Linked DNA regions of Homo sapiens: region 2 is linked to region 1. The links are contacts of gene promoters, found by promoter capture Hi-C in blood cells and fetal thymus (Javierre and others, 2016). All regions are on one chromosome and are shown on one strand. Each heading gives the region's core, a stretch centred on a gene start or on the middle of the fragment in contact. The rest is flanking DNA. Distances are from core to core; before and after follow the strand shown. Region 1 holds the start of GRM7-AS2 (GRM7 antisense RNA 2). Region 2 has its middle 370 kb from the start of LMCD1-AS1.

Evidence for each region. The method cuts DNA at HindIII sites, captures the fragments that hold promoters and counts their contacts. A CHiCAGO score of 5 or more calls a contact.
Region 2: a fragment that was not itself captured here is called in contact with the fragment with the promoter of GRM7-AS2 in region 1 in 4 of 17 cell types (M0 macrophages, endothelial precursors, M2 macrophages and 1 more); the score reaches 8.1 in M0 macrophages.

Annotation. Positions count from the first base shown.
Region 1 is chr3:6,892,509-6,896,028 of GRCh38, forward strand. It overlaps GRM7-AS2 (GRM7 antisense RNA 2), which reads right to left and starts at 1,509. Exons shown (of 2, transcript NR_131906.1): 1 at 1,412-1,509; 2 at 129-540. The region is part of intron 1 of GRM7 (glutamate metabotropic receptor 7); the gene reads left to right. The HindIII fragment of the contact is 4,859 bases long and covers 73-3,520 here.
Region 2 is chr3:8,133,325-8,136,844 of GRCh38, forward strand. No RefSeq gene overlaps it. Among named protein-coding and RNA genes, the nearest start is that of LMCD1-AS1, 370 kb to the right of the region's middle. The HindIII fragment of the contact is 1,482 bases long and covers 1,249-2,730 here.

The sequences.
Region 1 (3,520 bases), core at 259-2,758:
AAGCACTTTCTTGATATCCACCTACATATCCAGGAAGGTATAATATATTCCTGTCAGGGACAAGAGCAGGAAAGCTTCCTGAGCATCTGAGAGTGAGGAAAAAGAAGGAAGAATTGGAGCCAATTCTGCTTGTTTTAGAATTGTATTTGTAGCTGCCCGTTTTACATATCACATGCTAAACTTCACCTCTCTTTACCCAATTACAGACACCTGAGGGGTAAACTCTGTGTTGGCAACCCAACAGCCCTCTGTGCTGGGCCACAGGCATCCCAGGATGTGAAAGACTTCCCTCAATGTCTTTGTTACTTGAGGCTACATCATTCCTCTCTTTGGAGATCAGCTTCTGTTGTGTGGGACAAAACGATGCGAAACCCGAACTCAAATAGAAAGATACAAAAATTAGCTACAGGTGTGCATGGCCCAGGGATGAAGTTGAGATTTCATGTAATGTGTCCTCTTTCTGTCATGACCTTGATGATGATGATAATGATGATGATGATGATGATGACGATAGCATCAGTAACATTTATTGATTTTTTCCTAGATGAAGGGCATATCATCTTAATAACCATTTTTTAATCTCCACTATGACCTAATGAAGTAAGCATTATATTATTTCAATATCCTCGAGGGTCAAAAAAATTAAGGAAGTTATTCTAGCTCACAACTGGGTGGTAGAACAACAATGACTGGACACTGGATCTGCCTGAATTATATTGTGTGAGCAGAGCCACTTACCTATTTCTGGCATATTGTAACTCAGAAGCTCTGGGGTTATTGTAGAGCAGCTGAGTGTGGTTGAACTAAGATGTCTTAATAGATAATATTAATATAAAGTAAATTACTTTAAAGTATCTTGGCATATATTGCGTTACTCTCATATCTGTCATTGGTTCTATTGGTAACTGTTGAGAAACTCATAACGTGAATCCTAATTCGGCCTCTAACTCATCGTTTATTTGACCTAATTGAGGCAATTATCTTTGTGTTGTTTTCTTTCCTACAGACATAAACTGAGCATCCAAAACATGCCCACCATCTTGTAAGTATATGCCATTAGTTTTATAGGTGCTCAATAAGATGGAGAAAGAGAAAAAGACACAAAAATACACCTCTCAGCATTTGAAATACAGTCATCAATTTTTGTGCCTTTTATATTGTCAGTTCCTTTTAACATTTACTAACACCCACACAATTTATATTTTTAATAAAGCAATTTCCTTACCAAACATTTTACATTTGGTTATTAGTTATATTCTGGTATTCTAACAATAACACTAATAATTATAAGCTGTTGAAAAATTCATCAGACCCTACATTTTTATCCCCACATCCTGAAAATAAAGTGGGAAATAAGGTAAAGAGTAGAAAATCTGCCTATGTTTTTCTTCGGATGACATGAGATGCTCACCTAATATCACTCCTTTAGCATTTTCTATTAAATTGTTCATTCTTTCCTGGGGGCATATGAACAGCTTCCATTACGGTAAATGTCAGTCTTGAGTGCAAACCTAGAAGAGGGCAAATGGAAAACTTTTAGACAATAAGTCAACTTTTCTTCAAAAGTTCAACCACTATACATTCCATGGTGAAAATATTTCTATGTACAGATGAAACCTCTTAGGTTTGGGGAAATTTCAATAGCAGATAGTGATCCTGAGTACACCTAGTTCATTTCTCTCTGCTTTTCCCCCTTGTTACATTGAGATTAAAATCTGTAGCAGAATTACATATTAAGCAGTCTAGGAAATTGATATGACATTTGGTCTGAATCTCCAAAGTAAATTTTAGATGAAGATGCTATGAAATTCACATAAGAAAAAATCATCAGAAATATTTTTATATTATCAAATGTACTGCAATAATGAAAGCAAATCCCACTTCTAGCTAATGAAACATGATTCTTTAGGTGATATTATATTGTGGCAGAAAAGGGATTTATGTCATCTATTGTTTCTATCCTAAAAATGCTAGAATGGGAGCAAATAAGCCAAATTAATTGTAATATATACATTGTAATTGTAATATATACATACATCTCTATAGGTGTATATATATACATATGTGTGTATATATGTATATACAAATATATACACATATATATTGCATACACACATGTGCACACATATAAGTAAAATTTCAACTTGCATCCTCAGAGCAGGTTTTGTGGGGAAGATAGGATGTAAACTGGGTAGGCTTCCAGCAGCTTTACTCGATTCTGACTTTAGGATAAAATCAAGCATTTCAACTGGTCAGTCAGTCTGACCTTGATGGAAAAGCATTCATCTGGATGGAACACTATAATTAAACATGCAGTTGTAGAGATGCCCTGGCTGTATTATTCCAGTGCCTGGAAGGTATTGAAACATCTATTTTCTCTAGGAGATGGAAAGGTATCTCAAGTGAAGTCTAAGTGTAATAAACAGAGGCCAGTGCTCTTTGTTGGGACATTGCTTTGATCCTATAACAAGTAACAATTTCATAATCTGTTTAAGATTGTCTTTATCCAAGAGGGTTCTTAGCAATAGGAGTAGAAAAGAAAAGCCGCTCTTTCTGGGTTCTTGCTCTTTGTCTATGAACCAGAGAAGGTGCCAATAGATGAACCAGGTCACAGCTATCCACAGCAGGAGACAGGACGATTATTAACACTCAATCTACTGGAAAGTAAATGGAAGTCTAAAGAAAGACTCCAAAGATTTCTATACCTTATATACTTGATACACCAAAAGTGTCGCCTCAGTGGATCCCTTCCCCCAAAATGCCAATATGTTTTTGCCAGTGTGTGACAGAATCTGAGGGGTGAAATTAAGGAAAAGAATGGAAAGCTGCCTTAAGATTCTAGCTCTTTGAACAGGGAACAAACAATACGTTTTCAATAATCTTAGCAACCACACTTGTAATAATGACCATCAGAATAACTGCTGTTTTCTGCCATATGGTAAGAACACTACCAAACTTATTTTTTTCTTCAACTTTACAACTCAAATTCTCTTATTATTTTCATTTTACAAATTAGGAAAGTGAAGCTCAGAGATACTGTCATTTGGCCAAGATCACACAGCTAGTAAGAGATAAGTCTGAACCCTTTTTGTTGGATACCAAAGACCACAATTTTAGTCCTTCAGAATCTATCTCAGAGCATTTGAGTAAGTTAATTTTAAAAAGTCCTCCTAATCAGATTGATCAGGCCATTATATTAGGTTAAGCAAAGTGGGAAAATGGCATAAGAATATTTGAATTGTAAATACAAGAATTTACTTGCATCTAAGTTATCCACATAATATTTAGCTGATAGCTTCATGATTACAACAACTGAATGGAAATGAACATGTTTTGCTGTTTGGAATAAGATTGCCCATTGAGTAAAAATATATATTTATTCCTCACCCAATATGACATGAGGTGCAGACGACATTGAGATGCCATCTAGTAGTGCTCCTATGTAGTTCATCATGTCAGCCCAGCCAATAATTTTAAAATGTTTTGAGTCTATAATGAATGCACCCATAAAGCATATTTC
Region 2 (3,520 bases), core at 740-3,239, 1.2 Mb after region 1:
AGAACTATAGCTCTAAGTCCTGTGATCCAACTGCTTCTTTGTTTACAGTTTTTGCACACTCTATGGATATTACTCAAAATGCTGCATGGCCATTTATTCATTGGTCAGCCCAAGTATGGGGGCTTGGCTGGGACAAGGGTGTGGTATCAGGGAGGGCAAGAGTTCCTGGTGCAGAAATGATGTAGGAACTTGAGGACAAGTCAAACTGAACGTGTATCTGACTTCCAGAGTGCCAATACTGTTTCATGCATTTACTGTTGTTCTAGAACATTTTGATATATTATCTTATTTAATCCTCACGGTGCCACTGTATGACAATAGCTATTTGTTATTTCTCACCACAGTATCAATTTGCAGTGAAGGAAGCTGAGTCCCAGAGAAACAAAGTGACTTGGTTCAAGGCCACAGAATTCATAAGTGAAAGAGGCTGGATTTGAACCTGGATCTCCCAATGTCTCAAGCCACACTGGGTTGCCTCTTGAAATTGCTTGTTCAGAGGACTAAGGAGAGACACTAAAGCATCAGGACACCATCCAAGAAAGGAGAGGAAGGGAGGGAAGCAAAAGTCAGTAAGGGTCCCTGAACAAGAATGTGGTGGCAGCATCTTTATCAGGAGTATCTGGGTCTGTGGGCCTAGATCCCCATCTAGGGGACCTCAAACTCTACTCAGCAAACAACAGTTCTGGGGAGAAACATTGTGTCCCAGGGAGGAACGGAAAAGGGAATTCGCTCATTCCTTCTGTCATTTATTCATTCAGCAAATATTATTAAATGCTGATTCTGTGCCACGCACTGCATCAGGCACTTGAATATAACAATGGATAAGAAGAGAGGTGAAGTTCCCCACTCTAACAAGTCTACATTCTAACACAAGAAACAGGTAGAAATGGAGACAGGCAGATTTTTTTAGAAGAATGATTTCAAACACAGTTGACCCTTAAACAAAATGGGTTTGAACTGCACAAGTCCACTTATAAGCAGATTTTCTTTCACCTCTGCCACCCAAGAGACAGACACCCAAGACCAACACCTGCTCTTCCTCCTCTTCCTCAGCCTTCCCAATGTAAAGACGATGAGGTTAAAGGCTTTTATGATGATCCACACCCACTTAAGGAATAGTAAATATATTTTCTCTTCCTGATGATTTTCTTAATAACATTTTCTCTTCTTCAGATTACTTAATATAAAAATACAGTATATAATACATATACAAAATGTGTGTTAATCAACTATTTATGTTATTAGTAAAGCTTCCAGTCAATAGTAGGCTATTAGTAGTCAAGTTTAGAGAATCAAAAGTCACTCAGATTTTGTATTGTTCGAGAGGTCAGTACCCCTAATCCCCACATTGTTCCAGGGTCAACTGTGGTGGTAAGAATTATAAAGAGAAAAAACAGCTAATAGCATAGATTAACATTAATATCTCTGGGTACCATGTTATACGGTGGGTCAGCAAGGTTTCATTGAACTGAAAGATAACTTAAGAGGAAGAGCCTGTGGGACATGAGGTGAGGGATATGCATTCCAGGCCAAAAGGAGCAGGGAGTTCAAAGGCCCTGAGATGGGGCAGGTTTGGCAGATTTGAGAAACAAAAGAAGGTCATTTTGGTTGAAGCACAGTGAACAAGAGAGAAGCAGAAAGATATATGATTATGTGGGTGCTTGTCATTTTATGGTAAGTGGGATAGGAAGCCTTTAAAGGGTTTGGAGTAGGAGAGTAACAGGACCCTAAACAACCAGGAGGCTGCAAGGAATTGAGATCTGCAGCCAGGGCTCCAGGCTTATGCCCCATGTGGAACACTAGCTGGAGAGGGTAAGGTCAGGGCCATGCAGCCAGACAAGGGGGTGAGAGGGGGCTGGGTGCCTACGCAAGAGTAACATGGGGGTCCAGAGGCAGGCCTTGGAATCTGCCACCTAATGCCCAGCCATAATGTTCATTCAACATTTTTATTGACACCTACTCAGTACCTGGGTAAGGGATTCAGTGCACTTAGAGAGCTGGGTTTTTGATGGGAGAGAGAAATTAAACAGCTCAATTAGATAATTCTTCCTTCTAATAAGTGCTCCTGAAATAGAGGGCTGGGACTGAGCTTGCTTAGATCGGAGATGGTCTCGTGGAAGAGGTGACTCCTGGGGGTGAGAAGGAACCAGTTCCTAGAGGTGAGGATGAGGGCACTGGAGGAAACAGCACGGACAAAGGCCCAGAAGCTGAAAAACTCTGCCATATTGGAGGAAGAGGAAAGCAGCTCTGCACCTGGCACTTAGAGGGATACTAGAGGAAGCTAAGAGGATCCTAGGGACAGCTCATGTTGCTAGGGTCAGAGGTTGAAATTTATCTAAAAGCATAAGGGTTTTCCTACAACGAAATGCACAATTCACTGTTTTAATTTTTTAAAGGTTATGATAATTAAATGTTAACTCAGTACTTGCTCTTGAATGAACACTATGTCTGTGTTGTCACTATACACTGAGTAGCCCTTATCTGAAATACGTGGGACCAGAAGCGTTTTGGGTTTCAGATTTTTTCAGAGCTTGAAATATTTGCATTGTACTTAGAGTTAAGCATCCCTAATCTGGTATTCTAAAACCGTTTGATCATGACTTTTGAGTGATATGTCACTGCTCAAAAAGTTTCCAATTTTGGAGCATTTCAGATTTTATATTTTCAGATTAAGGATGCTCAACCTGTGCTATGTGTCAGTATCTGCTGTAAGCACTTCGCTTACATTAAAGCTTTTACTCTTCAAAACCACAATTTGAGTTAGGCACTCTTTTCCTTATTTTGCAAATGAGAAAATTGAGGAACACAGATTCAGCACCCAAGATCACACAGCTCATGAATGGCATAGCTGGAATCTGAACCCAGGCATTTTGACTCCAGAATCCCCTCTCTGACACAGCATGCTAGGCTGATGCTCTTTGATGTTCAAAGAGCACCCAAGGGCAGGACATCACAGGGAGACATAAAGACCAAGAAAGTGAGTGGAGTCAGCATTTGGGGTTCACCCTGAACTCAAGAACAAGCAAAGTTATTCTTCACTTTTTTTCTGTCCTATGTATTTATTCAAGAAGTATTTATTGAGCATTCGTTAAGTACCAGACTCCAGGTCAGATGTTAAAGATCCCTGAAGAGGTAAAACAGACAGATACAGATTCTTCCTCCTGGACTTTCTGTCTGTTGGAGGGCACAGAAATAAGAGAAAATTAAAAGACTAAAAAGTGTCATAGGGGAGAGGTAGGCCCTGCTTCAAGATTATATGACAGACAAAGCAGCTTTGGAAAAGTAAAACTTAGGAAAGGGCTGTTAGGCTTGGGAAGCCTTCTGTTTAGGAGGAACTTCAGGCCCTGGATTGCCGAGTGGTGCTGAGAGGGAGAAAAGTGGGTCAGGGTGATGGTAGGGGTGAGAACACGCCAGGCTCACTGAGTTAACTCTGGCCTCTAGGTTTACAGGTGAGAAGTCAATTATGACTAATCACCCTGCTTGATTTTTCAGGCCAGCTCAATCCAGCGGACAGGAAGGG